Linked DNA regions of Homo sapiens: all the other regions are linked to region 5. The links are contacts of gene promoters, found by promoter capture Hi-C in blood cells and fetal thymus (Javierre and others, 2016). All regions are on one chromosome and are shown on one strand. The core of a region is centred on a gene start or on the middle of the fragment in contact, and the rest is flanking DNA. Distances in the headings are between cores, read along the strand shown. Region 1 holds the start of SLC2A12 (solute carrier family 2 member 12). Region 2 has its middle 14 kb from the start of TBPL1. Region 3 overlaps LOC124901404 (a long non-coding RNA gene). Region 4 has its middle 28 kb from the start of SLC2A12. Region 5 holds the start of RPS12 (ribosomal protein S12).

Region 1 (2,700 bases), core at 138-2,637, 1.2 Mb before region 5:
GTTTCCATTTGCTACCTGTTTCCCTGAAAGATAAGAAAAATATAGAATTATTTAATGACAAGCAAAGGAAATGTACAAATAAGTGAATTTAGAACTTTGAAGTGATTCAGTTAAAATGTTGAAAAGAAGTAACAAAAATTTAGCTTCTGCTTATACAAGCACAAATTTGTTTTTCTGTCCAGAGAAATGCCTATGACTAAAAGCCATATTTCACGGCATCTTCTTAAAGTCGAGTAGGTCTGAAACCATAGGAAGCCAAGAAAATTAGAGAAGGACAAGGCTGGGAAGTTAGAATATAGGAGAGTTACAGCTTTAGACCTCCTGGATTCATAATCTCAGCTCTACCACTGATTAGCTGTGAGACTGTAGCCAAGTTACCCAACCTCCATTTCCTCTTCTATAATGTTGGTACCTGCCTCAAAGTCATCATCTGCGTTATTGCGCTTAGCACAATTTCTGGCACATAAGTGCTCCACACATGTTAGTTTTTATTCCAAATGATTTTTAAGATGATCTCAATTTCCTCTATAAGGCTTTTTTTTTTAATAAACATGATTTGTTGAATGAATAACTGAAGGTAAAATGTCATAACCCTGTAAGACTTTTTTATAAATATGTTCACAAATCAGAAAAAGATCCTCTCTCATGACCTGATTTTGTTTGAGATTACATGTCCACCACACGCACACAATGGGCCACTTAGTCTGGCCTCTCTGAGTGAGGAGTATCCTCCTCCTACCTACGCAAACATGAAACCTAACAGAGGATTCAGTGTTAATTTGTCTCTTAAAGACAATTCTGCATTAAGAAATGGATTACTTTGCTATAACCTCAGCATATAAAAAGTCTAAAGAATCTGTGCATTCTGAGTTTGTGTATTTTTGGTCTCAGGCTGTGATTTATCTGAAAGGCCTTGGAGAGAAAGATATAGGCCTTTACCTAGACCAAAATCAGGTTGAAACAATAAAGGTATTTTATGCTTTGTGTAAGCTGGTAAATACCATGACTTTTGGAATAACAGTCTTGCTGAAAAATTGACACACTTTTCCTTCTGGTATGTCTTTGCATAAATTGTTCCTCTTTCTGCAAGATTAACTGATACCATCTGTGAGTATTCTATCCCCACTCTCAGCTTGCATTTAAATCTGCATGTTTCCTTTCTCTGCCTCTTTTCAAAGGTGCTAGAATACAAGAGCTACCCTTAGCTAATGGCCAAACACTCCGTCTGAGTTCCCTTTCTTTTAACCCCTTGCTTCCAACTCTGCATCTAAAGGCAAAAACAATCCTCTGACTCACGGCCCTCCCCCTGCCTGTGATAGGCTGCTTGGAATAGCAACAGCCTGTGTCACCGAAAAGGGCAAAGCCTTCGGAAATAGAAACAAAGTTGGTCACAAATCACATTAGCTTTGCCCGAAGTTTTTCCCCACACTCTTCTTTAGCATGCTATTATGGGGAAAGTGACCACTCCTGGGAGCGGGGGTGGTCGGGGCGGTTTGGTGGCGGGGAAGCGGCTGTAACTTCTACGTGACCATGGTACCTGTTGAAAACACCGAGGGCCCCAGTCTGCTGAACCAGAAGGGGACAGCCGTGGAGACGGAGGGCAGCGGCAGCCGGCATCCTCCCTGGGCGAGAGGTAAAGTGAGCCTGCAGTGCTCGGGTGACCGCAGAGAAGCAAGCTGTACTCATCTCCCGAGTGTACTGTCTCTTGAGTCCCGTGTGTGTGTGTGTGTGTGTGTGTGTGTGTGTGTGTGTGTGTGTGTATGCGCGCGCGCGCATGTGGGCGCGCTGGATGAGTGGAGAGAAGGGGACAGGGTCTGGTGGGACGTGGGACAGCTCGGAGCTGTAATGTTGTGAAGATCGAAGTCTTGGTGGAACCTTATGTGCCAAGAAAATACAGGTTACACATCCACCACTGGTATGATGGGTCCCCTTGATTGTGTTTACATAATACAATGTATGGATGTTTTTCATATTGGAACGGTCCACTGGCAAAGATAGTCTCATTTGTAAACACACACAAGCACACGCTTGCTTACACTTTTTCATTTATTGTCACAAATGGACACTGTGTAACCAGTTGACATTATAACCACTGTTTTAAAAATCAGTATTTTAAACAGGCTTCATAAAATTATTAGTTATGTAATCAATGAGAACACAAACTTCCTTTTTAAATTCCCAGCACGTTTGTGATGAATTTGAGCGTTATTCAGAGCCTGAAACGCTTGCTTTGCTGGGTTCTGCCTTCTTTAAAACTGGCCTTGCAAACTGAGGTTTGTTTGCTATGATGACCTTCTGAAGGTGAAATTTGGAAAAGTTTTAATTCATTTAATGATCTTTGATAAATCAGAGGCTGGTCTTCACTTCCACATTTACAATTCCCACAAATACATTGTACGCTTTTTGCTGCCTCTTCCTGCTCATTTAGTTTGTGCTGCAAGGAATAGAAAGTAATTGTAATATGAAATGACAACAAACACAAAAAATCTTCTCTTTCCTACTACTTTCCTCAGCTGTGTATTCTTAATCAGATATTACATTCCCAAGCAGCATATAGAAATTTCATGCAAAATCCAATACACTAAATGATACAAAAGACATCTGCCTTTCTCTTGGGAATGGTCCTAATACTGACGTTTGCCTTGTGGGTTTGTCTGATCTTGGGGAATCGAACCTGTGACCCCTAACATCGAGGCATGA
Region 2 (2,700 bases), core at 196-2,695, 1.1 Mb before region 5:
CGTATAGCAAATATAACACAGGAAGAAAGAAATGAACCTCTGGATTTTGGTAATTGACCAAACATTCTGAAGAAAACTATTAAAAATGCTGGGGAAAAAATCTAAAATCCTTTTTAAAAGCAAATACTGAACAGAGAATAAGATACTGTAAGACCAAAATTAGGAACGAAAAAGAACCAAGAGAGATAAATAAGCAGTAGAAGGTGTTTATGCTTTGTAGGGGTAATGACAACTTGAACTTTCGTTTTGATGTCCCCACTGAGTGAAAGGTATGGCAATTGCCCAGGGATTGCACAAAGCAGGAAGCTGAACAGGAAGGAGATCCTCCTGACAGTGAGGTAGGAAATGAAAGGGCTGTGTCCTTAGGGCAAGAATATACCTGAAATAAACAAATCCTCTTTTGGTTGTTTCCATCATGGTGACGGTCCCGGGAATTTCAAGCTTTGAACTTAGATTAAGGTAGTCTCAGACTGATGGTGTCCTTAGGTGCCTAGCAGAAACAAAGATATCTCTCTATAGGAAGGTGGATTCCTGTTAGGCTAGGATAGTTCCCACAAATACATTTTAAAGTACTATTACCAGAACATGTGTAGTCAAGTTTAAACAGACACATGAGGAAAGAAGACAACATAAGCAAGAACAAACAGAAATAACAAAGGCCATAGAACCACAAATACTTAATATTTGGATTTAGCAGGTTATAAAACAGGTAATAAAACTATAGTTATTATTTAATGAAATAAAAGATAAATTTGAAATATCTTCGGGAAAAATTACGTTGCAGATATTTAAAAAAGGACCAAAGAATAAAATAAATTTATATGGTTCAGAAATTCTCCACTGTTTTAGTCTTCTGGTGGCACTCCATACTGGTTTTTAGTGCTGCTACGAATTAATTTTTTTTTCTTTGAGACGGAGTCTCACTCTGTCACCAGGCTGGAGTGCAATAGCACAATCTTGGCTCACTGCAACCTCCACCTCCTGGGTTCAAGCGATTCTCCTGCCTCAGTCTCCCAAGTAACTGGGATTACAGGCATGCGCAACCACACCTGGCTAATTTTTTTTTTTTTTTTTGTATTTTTAGTAGAGATGAGGTTTCACCATGTTGGCTAGGCTGGTCTCAAACTCCTGACCTCAGGTGATCCACCCACCTCAGCCCCCCAAAGTGCTGGGACTCTAGGTGTAAGCCACCATGCCTGGCCTGAATTAATTTTTATGTTTATGTTTTTACATAATTTTTATTTTTACATTTCTTCAATTTAATTGCATTTTGAAAGGGCAAGGAGGTAAATATGCATTTTAGGCCACCTTGAAAGCCAGTTGATGACTTTAACGGCAGACTAAATACAGTTGAAAAGAGAATTGGTGAACTAGGAGCTAGGTCAGAAAAACAATAATTTAAAAGTGAAACAGAGAGACAAAAAGAAAACACAGAATAAGAATTAAAAGAAATAAACAACAGAGGAGAATAGATTAATATACATCTCATCAGAATCTAGGAAGGAGAGGAGAGAGAAATGGGGCAAAGGTAATATCTGAAGAGATAATGGCTGAGAATTTTACGGAAGTGATGAAAGACACTAATGTACATGAAAGACACTAATGTACAGGTTAAGACAACCCAGTGAGTCTCAAGCAAAATAAACAAGAAGAAACCTATATCTAAAATTGTCATAATGAAACAGCTGAAGAGCAAAGCTAAAAAAAATAGAAAAAGAAAAGAAAATAGTGAAAACAATCAGAGAAAAGTGATGAATTGCTTTCAAAGGAGTAAATATGAAACTGACATGACTGCTCAGCAGCAGCAAGAGACATCAGAAGACAATGGAGGGGGATCTTCCACTTACTGAGAGAAAATTACTATCTAGTCTTAATGTCTAGTGAAAAATATTTTAATAGTGAGGCTGAAATAAAGACATTTTCAGGCTAATGAAGACTAGTAGTTTTTCCTAAGCAGAATCATACTAAAGAAAGTTATAAAAAAAGTGCGTTAGGCAGATAAAAAAAATGTAAGCTATAAAAAGGTATAAAGAACAAAGAAAGTGGTGAATAAATAAGTTAATATACACTGAAAGAGTAAAAGAACAACAATATAGCATCTAAAAAATAGAAAAAAATGCAATTACAAGTATCACATATGTTGAAGAGGGTCAAATGGAATCAAATATCCTAAGCAGCTTGTATGAAGGGTAAAGGTTAAGTATGCATGTTGTAATTCTAGGATAATTACTAAAAGAATAGAAACAAATTACACAATCTCCCAGCAGTAAAGGGAAAAAATTGGATGATAAGAAACAATTTGTTGAAAGAAGCAAGAAAAAAGAGAAAAGTATATACTGAATAGGTAGAACAAATAGCACACCATAAGATGGTAAATTAAAACCCAAATATGTAGACAATTACATTAAATGTATATGAACTAAATACTCCAGTTAAAAGTCAAGCTTATCAAGCTTGACTGATTAAGAAAAACAAAACAGGACAGGCACAGTGGCTCAGGCCTGTAATCCTAGCACTTTGGGAGGCTGAGGTGGGTGGATCACTTGAGGTCAGGAGTTCAAGACCAGCTTGGCCAACATGGTGAAACCACATCTGTACTAGAAATACAAAAATTAGCAGAGCTTGATGGCGCATATCTGTAATCCCAGCTACCTGGGAGGCTGAGGCAGCAGAATCACTTGAACCTGGGAGGTGGACGTT
Region 3 (2,700 bases), core at 169-2,668, 1.3 Mb before region 5:
TCCCACATGTTAATGAGGATATGCGATATTTGTCTTTCTGTGCCTGGCTTATTTCACTTAACATAATGACCTCCAGTTCTATTCATGTTGTTGCAAATGACAGGATTTTGTTCTTTTTCGTGGCTGAATAATATTCCACTGTCTTTATCCATTCATCTGTTGATGGACACTTGGGTTGATTCCATATCTTGGCTATTGTGAGTAGGGCTGCAATAAACATGCAAGTGTCCACGGGTCTGAGAAGCTCGCCGGGCAGCAATCTCGGCTAGGAACCCGACATCAAGCTGATGGATGAGATGGTGATAATCATGGGGGGGCAAGATGGAGGCCACAACTTTCAAGCGGTTCATGGAGATGTGTGTCTGCGGCTACCTGGCTGTGCGGTGAGATATCTCTTTGATATACTGATTTCCTTTCTTTTGGATATATATTCAGCAGTGGGATTGATGGATCATATGGTAGGTATAGTTTTAGTTCTTTGAGGAACCTCCATACTGTTTCCCATAATAGCTGCACTACTTTACAACCCCACCAACAGTGTACAAGTGTTCGCCTGTCTCCACATTCTCACCAGCATTTGTCATTTTTTGTCTTTTTGATAATAGCCATTCTAACTAGAATGAGATGATATCTCACTGTGCTTTTGATTTGAGTTTTCCTGATGATTAGTGACACTGAGCATTTTTTATATACTTGGACATTTCTATGACTTCTTTTGAGAAATGTCTATTCATGTATTTTGCCCATTTTAATAAGATTATTATTATTATTATTTTGCTATTGAGTTGTTGAGTTGTTGGAATTCCTTATATATTCCAGTTATTAATTTCTTTTTTTTTTTTTTTGACGGAGTCTTGCTTTGTTGCCCAGGCTGGAGTGCAGTGGTGCGATCTCCGCTTACTGCAAGCTCCACCTCCCGGGTTCACGCCATTCTCTCGCCTCAGCCTCCTGAGTAGCTGGGACTACAGGCACCCGCCACCACGCCCAGCTAATTTTTTTGTATTTTTAGTAGAGACGGGGTTTCACCATGTTAGCCAGGATGGTCTCGATCTCCTGACCTCGTGATCCGCCTGCCTCGGCCTCCCAAAGTGCTGGGATTACAGGCGTGAGCCACCCTGCCCGGCCCAGTTATTAATTTCTTGTCAGATGAATAGTTTGCAAATATTTTCTTACTTAAACTTGGACAGTGTGATATATATATGAAGTGTGAAGGCCCTAGGATAGGTTATTTGACATCTGAAGCATGTTTTCCCTAATCAAGAATACATGCTCCAGAAGTGGTTAGCATTTGAAACACTCTAATCAGGCAGCCTCCCTGCAGAGGCTACTCCTACAGGCTTCGGTGATTTCCATCTGCACTATAAGGATTGTTTACCAGCATAAGAGCTGTTAGAATTCATTTTTTAATTGTTGAAATGAATGGTGTTCAAGTTATGTGATTTGCTAAAAAATATTATGCAAGAATGGTTGCCCTTGCATGAGCTGGGATATCAGAATCCAATGAGTGCAGCTTCCCATACCTTTCAAATTTCTTGTTCTAGGGCTCCAAAGAAAACCTGATCATGCTACTTTAAAATCACACTAGGTTAGTTAAATCTTCCTACTAAAATATTGTTACATTCAATGAAGTTTTTATGCAAGGTAGTCACAGAGCTTGTAAAAACAGATTATATAGCTGTTATTGGGCCAGCTTGCTAAAAGCTATTTGTTTGAGCCATAATTCAACCTGAAACTTGCTTTCATCATAACATATACCTGATAGTAAGGTTGTGTGGGAACACCTCTCACTCTCTACTACCTTTAGTCACTGGAGACTACTGACGTGTCCCAGCAATGATCTGTTTCTAATGGTTGGACTAGCTTAAGCCAGTTTAAATCCAGGGAAAAGGCTTGTTTTGGAAATGTATCTACACAGTGTCTGAGAAAATCTATGCTACTTATTTGTATTGATGAAGCACTTTCTTTTTCCTTTCCTTTCTCAGTAGTTTATAATAAGAATTTTCTTAACTTTTGAAAATGAATGGATAACCAGGGTCACCAGGCAATCGAAGAAAACACATTCAATTCAGTAATTCTTTTGGCATTACTATGAGGATTAAGTCAGATAATGTGTGTTAAATGCTTAGTATTTATCACTTAGCACGTATTCTATAAGTGATAATTATTACTTTAGATAATTAAATGTAAAATCTGAGAAAAAGTCAATAGAGCCCCTAAAGTTTCATTTTTTTCAATAATTCTCACACAAACTCAATAAATTTTAGAAAATTCCTCCTATCTGGTAGGCACTGGGAGTATAGTTGTGAAGAACTGGCAAAGACCCCACCTTGATGAAGTAGACATCTTAGGGCAGAGGCATACCACCAACAAATAAATCCATAATATCATGGAGTGACTGGTGCTCCAAATTAACATAGGGCTCAGCTGGTTCAGGGATGGAGTGTAATGGGATGGAGTGAGGAAGGGGATGGCTGCCTTTGTTAGCATGTTTCGGGGAGCCCTGGATGTAGAAGTCACATTTAAGCAGAGGTTCTGAGTGATATGAGGAAGCAAGTCATTGCAACATCTGGGAAGAGCGCTCCAGGTGGGTAAAACAGCAAGTGCGAATACTCTAAAGTGGGAATGTTCAGGCAGAGTTAGAAGTCTTGTGAGACTGGGCACAGTGTGGAAGAAGAAGGTCCAAGGAAATAAGGTCATTCC
Region 4 (2,700 bases), core at 90-2,589, 1.3 Mb before region 5:
CGGGGAGCTGCTGAACACAAGGGTCTCCTGCTGGAGACCCTGAATTCCTGTTGCACTCCCTGTGTGTAAAGTGAGCCCAACAATGGCCTTGAATGTGAGAAATAAACATTTTGACCTCAAGTACTAAGAAGTCTGAGCTTAGGCACCAATCACCCCTGGAAAATACCAGCTTTCAGCATCTGGAGAATTGGACAGTGCCTACTACTGTGAGAAGCTGAATTCTGGTAGAAGCCATCCCAGTGGATGCAGGGCAGCACTTGAGCACATGGGAAAACTCAGGCTCTTTCTCTGGGAAACATGAGCCATCAGTCTCAACAAGCTTGTTGCCAGGTAACCAAGAGCAATTTCCCAAAATTAGTGATTGAAAGAGAAGGACCAATAGGAATAAACAGAATGACTAAATCTAGAGAAATCAAAGTTTATCCAGGGAGCCAAAGAGAATTTTTTTTAAGTCTAGAGAAGACATTGTGTATACCACACTCCCACAATGACATCTGCCCACCTACCTGCCTTAAGAGTAGAAGGGCAGGCCAGGCGCGGTGGCTCATGCCTGTAATCCCAGCACTTTGGGAGGCCGAGGAGGGTGGATCACCTGAGGTTAGGAATTCAAGACCAGCCTGATCAACACGGTGAAACTCTGTCTCTACTAAAAATGCAAAATTAGCCAGGTATGGTAGTGCATGCCTGTAGTCCCAGCTACTTGGGAGGCTGAGGCAGAAGAATCGCTTGAACCCGAGAGGCGGAGGTGGCAGTGAGCCGAGATCATGCCACTGTGCTCCAGCCTGGGTGACAGAGTGAGACTCCATCTAAAAAAAAAAAAAAAAAAAAGTAGAAGGGCAGAATTGTCAAAGCAGCCACACTTGAATGGTAGATCTTACCCAGCACCAAACTTCACTAATAATTCAAAGACTACAGGCAAGAACCAGACCATGGACAGATGTGGCATTTCTTTTGAGAGGAGCAGGAATCTGTCAGACTCCAGTTTAAAAAACAATATCTCTGTCTCCCTTATGAGTATACATTTTGTTTTCAGATTAACAATTGTCTTCTGAACAATTGTATGTGAAATAATTGTTTTCAAAGTGTCAGTTGAAGAATCATGAGGGAGGTTCATAAATTTGGAAAGAAAAGCCATATTTCTCATAAAGGGTTGCAGCCTGCAGGTGGCCATTCTGACAGGCTGGGAAGGAAACACACTTCAAGAGAGGGGTGAAGGGAACAGGAATTTATGCCGAGTCAGTTGGCTAAGTATACATATTCAACAGGTTAAAGGAGGAGCTATGGATATTCAAGAAGAGAAGGCACAGGTGTGTGTAGTGGGAAGGCTGACACGCATGCAGCATGCATCCCATGTTCACTTTGGGGTGGACACTTAACATTTAAATATATTACAATTAGACCCTATCCATCAAAAGGTGAAGCAGAGGACAGGAAGGCCCTCTGTGTGCAGCCTCTGCTATCCACTCCATGGCCAGTGGTCTCTTATCAGGAAGGAATGTTGATCAGTTGTTCTGTCAAAACCACAACAGGGAGGGGCAGCATCAGGTGGTTGGTTTCAAAAGGACTGGTTTCTGTTTACCCCTTAGGGAAGAAAGCCTAGCAGTAGTCAGTGGAGGAGGAGCTCTAATGAGGCGTGTCCAGCATCACATTCTGTCACGACCGAGGACTTGGTTTTTAAGGTTTTTCTGGGGTCCCCTTGGCCAAGAAGGTGTCTGTTCAGTTAGCTGGGGGACTTAGAGTTTTATTTTTATTTCTCAAAGGAAGATATTTAGTTGTGTGCCATCCATTCACCAACCAGTCATGTTACATAACTCCATAAATTCTAGGCTAACTTACAATAAGCAATCTTGACTTGATTCTTCTTCTTCCTTATGAAACGGCACTATTGTCTCGTGTAAATGCACAGGGTTTGTCATCTCACATCAAGAAGATTAAGGACACAGACACAAACAAGGAGTGATTTTAGGAGTGGAGATTTAATAGGAAAAAGAAAGAGAAAGGAGAACAGCTCTCTCTCTTGCAAGAGAGAGGGTCTCCCGAATGAGAATTCGAGCCTGGAATGGGAGTGCACCGGATTTTACAGACAGGCTTGAGGAGGTGGTGTCTGATTTACATAGGGCCCACAGAATGGTTGGACCAGGTGTAACGTTTATATAGCACAGGGGGAAGGCTGGCCATCCCACCTTAATCTTATTATGCAAATGGGCTTTCCACTTGGCTGGGGCCAAGTTGTCTTCTCCTTACTGTACACGTGGCTGGCAAAGAGAAAGAAAGATGGAGCCGCCAGTTTGAACATGCCTAGTCCCAGGTAGCCTTTTCCTACTTGTACAGCTGCCAGCATTCACCTGTGCAAGCTTCCACTTTGCTTGTCTATGTCTGCAGCTCGATTTTACAGGCTGTTCTTTGTTAGAAAAGAAAATGATTTGGAGCCTGTTTTTCATTAAAAAGAAAACCTTACTGAGGACTTCCTTACCCTCACTATCTGCCTAAATAATTTTTTTTAACTCCTATATCACTTATATTCTTTTTTTTTTTTTTTTTTTTTTGGCAGAGTCTCACTCTGTTGCCTAGGCTGGAGTTTAATGGTGCAATCTTGGCTCACTGCAACCTCTGCCTTCCAGGTTCAAGTGAGTCTCCTGCCTCAGCCTTCTGAGTAGGTGGGACTGCAGACATGTGCCACCATGACTGGCTAATTTTGTA
Region 5 (2,700 bases), core at 11-2,510:
GACTGTGGCATTAATGGAACAGTTATGAAATGCCATGCAATAATGCCGAAATAGAAATACAGAAGACTCATACTAGGACCTACTAAATACATTAAACAATAATGCCGTTTCCATCGGATTGAACTGGCTAGATTACACCAAAACGAACTTGTCCTGTAAAACCTTAAAACTGCATTTAAATTCAGCTCAAGAGTAGGTTGATTTGTCAATGCCACCACCCTAAAAAACACATTAACTCGATCCATTCAAATACATTAACAAATATCCCAAATTCAAATAAATCACAGCTATTATACTACTAAATTCATCTAGGACCAAATGCTTCTGAAACCTGAGTTTGAAATTCCATTAAATTAATGCTTGTTTTGCAAACTACCAGATGTAATGTGGCTCTCCATCTCATCTATCTGCCAGATAAGTATAAGACTGACTAGCTCCACAACCTACAGGTTTGTCAGACTCTTATGTTTCACTCATAAAAGGAGTGAAGGGGTATCCGACAATTAAAGTCATCATTCAAACACTGTAGTTTTGAGTGCTTATCCCCATTCCAAACAGCAACCCACACATTTTAAGTGGGCTTTATAGATCTGAGTTCTGATACCTTTTCCTAGGTTTCCGGTAGGACGGATGCCATTCAGAACTTTTGCGCTAACACCATGAACTCCATGCCTTCTTCCCTTGGGTGGCAGTTTTGTTCCGGTTGCAAGAACCCACAGTATTGAGACTGATACACGTACTTGTCTAAGGCTTTGGCAGCTTCGCGAATTCCACGTGCTAGGCCATCGTGGATGAGGGCAGTCTTCAGAACCTCTTGTAAAGCAGTATTAACGTCCATTACACCTCCAGCAGCAATGCTTAAACGCGACACATCAGAACCATCAGTTAAAATCCTCACACCACATAAGGCCTTGCACTCAGCAAAAGCTAAGTGTACAACAGACGCGCTTACGGCGACCCGTTTGACCCAGTCCTGTTCCGCCAGCTCTAGCCCCACGCCTCAGCCGCACCCCGACCCCAACTCCAACCCCGGCCCCTGGGCTCACCCTTCCTCGGCCATGGCGGTGGGTTACGGGTGAAGTTGAATCTTGAACGCACTAAAAAACAAAAGCATTGACTTGTTAAAGAACCAGATACTCGTCACGAATCCCAGCAAGAACGCAACGAGCCACAAATTATAACCAATACACCCCCCTGCCGCCTCGCTCAACTTACCCCAAGCCTCCGCCTCCGCGCGACTCGGCGGCGGCAGGGAAAGAGGCCTCATCCGCACGCATGCCGGTATTTAAGGGTTTTTCAGGTCCCCTGTGCGCATGTGCACTCCCACCCTCGAAAGAGGTGGCTCCCGCAGTGCCGGGCCTGGGGAGTTTCTGTTTCCGGATTGAGGCGGTTCTGAGGCAAACGTACTGCGAGTTTTCTATCTCTGCCAGGCCGGTCCTTGGCGAGTGCAACAGGCACTACGCGGGCAGCTTCGCGTTGTCCTTCTTTGCGGAGGCGTGGCCCACCGAGGCCCAGGGAACTCATTCTACGGAGCGCGACAGAAGCCAAACAAGTGTGTCCGCGTGTTCTTTAAGGCACCTAGAGCCCTGTATCCCGCCGAGCGCCAGTTTTAACCCTTTCCACACCACGTTCTACTTTCCTGTTGCTTCTACAAGACCCAGCCTCCCCAGGCAGCGCACTTTGTTCCTTCGCTTCTAAGTCACCCTGAGAGACCATGTTTGTGTCGTTGTGGGTGTGATCCTCATCTTTGTCTTCATGAAACGAGAGCCTACATGCTTTCACTCTTCCAGGCTGGAGTGCAATGGCGCGATCTCAGCTTACTGCGACCTCCGGCTCCCGGTTTCAAGCGATTCTCCTGCCTCAGCCTCCCGAGTAGCCGGGATTGCAGGCGCCTGCCACCACCCTGGCTAATTTTTTGTATTTTTAGTAAAGACGGGATTTCACCATGTTGGCCAGGCTGGTCTCGAACTCCTGACCTCAGGGGATCCACCCGCCTCGGCCTCCCAAAATGCTGGGATTAGAGGCGTGACCCGCCGCCCCCGGCCGCTTTCACTATTTCTAAGCCCTTTCCCTGCGGTGTGTTGGTAAAGCGGAACCCTGCAGCCAGGGGTCAATTCTAGTTTCTAAGTATAGCGGGAGTCGCTTCTGAACGAAGTTTGTTCTGCTTTGTTTGGTTTTTAACGACGCGTTGTGCTCGGAATACACAGTTCCGCGCAACTCAGAATTCCTCAGGTGCATTTTCAACACCTACAATGTGCCTGACGCAGGGCCAGGTCCTGGGACTACAGACATGAAATATCCAGTCTTTGAGGAGTCCATTTTCTTCCAGGAAGCAATATTTTAAATTTGGAAGTGATTGGCCATTCCCCAATCCCCACTTCCAAACCAAACGCACGAAACACTACTGAATATGATCAATACTGCCTTTGTGTTTAATTTCCTCTCCTGGGTAGTCAGCCGCCAAACCAGTGAGCAATTATTAGGCGCTTGGCACGTGCCAGCGCTGTGAATCCAGTGGGCAGATACTGTTAGACTGGTGAGTGCAGCGAAAAAAACAAAAATGGGTAACGCAGTAAGAGCACCAGGGAGTTCACCAGAACAGAGACCTGCTGTAATGTTAATAAACTGATAGAGTTCAGTTTACTGATAGAGTTCAGTTTTAGATTTTCCGCTGGTTTCAGTTTCATTTTTAAAGCGTTG

Evidence for each region. The method cuts DNA at HindIII sites, captures the fragments that hold promoters and counts their contacts. A CHiCAGO score of 5 or more calls a contact.
Region 1: a contact is called between the fragment with the promoter of SLC2A12 here and the fragment with the promoter of RPS12 in region 5, in 1 of 17 cell types (total CD8 T cells). The highest score is 6.0, in total CD8 T cells.
Region 2: a fragment that was not itself captured here is called in contact with the fragment with the promoter of RPS12 in region 5 in 2 of 17 cell types (total CD8 T cells and naive B cells); the score reaches 7.6 in total CD8 T cells.
Region 3: a fragment that was not itself captured here is called in contact with the fragment with the promoter of RPS12 in region 5 in 6 of 17 cell types (naive B cells, total CD8 T cells, naive CD4 T cells and 3 more); the score reaches 8.9 in naive B cells.
Region 4: a contact is called between a fragment that was not itself captured here and the fragment with the promoter of RPS12 in region 5, in 1 of 17 cell types (M2 macrophages). The highest score is 5.6, in M2 macrophages.

What each region holds. Positions count from the first base shown.
Region 1 is chr6:134,051,311-134,054,010 of GRCh38, reverse strand. SLC2A12 (solute carrier family 2 member 12) reads left to right here and starts at 1,387. Exons shown (of 5, transcript NM_145176.3): 1 at 1,387-1,633. The coding sequence starts at 1,531. The HindIII fragment of the contact is 5,616 bases long and covers 1-2,700 here.
Region 2 is chr6:133,937,621-133,940,320 of GRCh38, reverse strand. No RefSeq gene overlaps it. Among named protein-coding and RNA genes, the nearest start is that of TBPL1, 14 kb to the left of the region's middle. The HindIII fragment of the contact is 2,003 bases long and covers 444-2,446 here.
Region 3 is chr6:134,099,086-134,101,785 of GRCh38, reverse strand. The region is part of intron 2 of LOC124901404 (a long non-coding RNA gene); the gene reads right to left. Among named protein-coding and RNA genes, the nearest start is that of SLC2A12, 48 kb to the right of the region's middle. The HindIII fragment of the contact is 5,204 bases long and covers 1-2,700 here.
Region 4 is chr6:134,079,207-134,081,906 of GRCh38, reverse strand. No RefSeq gene overlaps it. Among named protein-coding and RNA genes, the nearest start is that of SLC2A12, 28 kb to the right of the region's middle. The HindIII fragment of the contact is 2,035 bases long and covers 322-2,356 here.
Region 5 is chr6:132,813,129-132,815,828 of GRCh38, reverse strand. RPS12 (ribosomal protein S12) reads right to left here and starts at 1,260. Exons shown (of 6, transcript NM_001016.4): 1 at 1,216-1,260; 2 at 1,047-1,097; 3 at 741-857. The coding sequence starts at 1,060. SNORD101 (small nucleolar RNA, C/D box 101) reads right to left here and starts at 522; the gene lies at 450-522. LOC107986644 (a long non-coding RNA gene) reads left to right here and starts at 1,541. Exons shown (of 3, transcript XR_001744345.3): 1 at 1,541-2,536. RefSeq lists enhancers at 795-924, 1,355-1,634, 1,549-2,295. The HindIII fragment of the contact is 13,401 bases long and covers 1-2,700 here.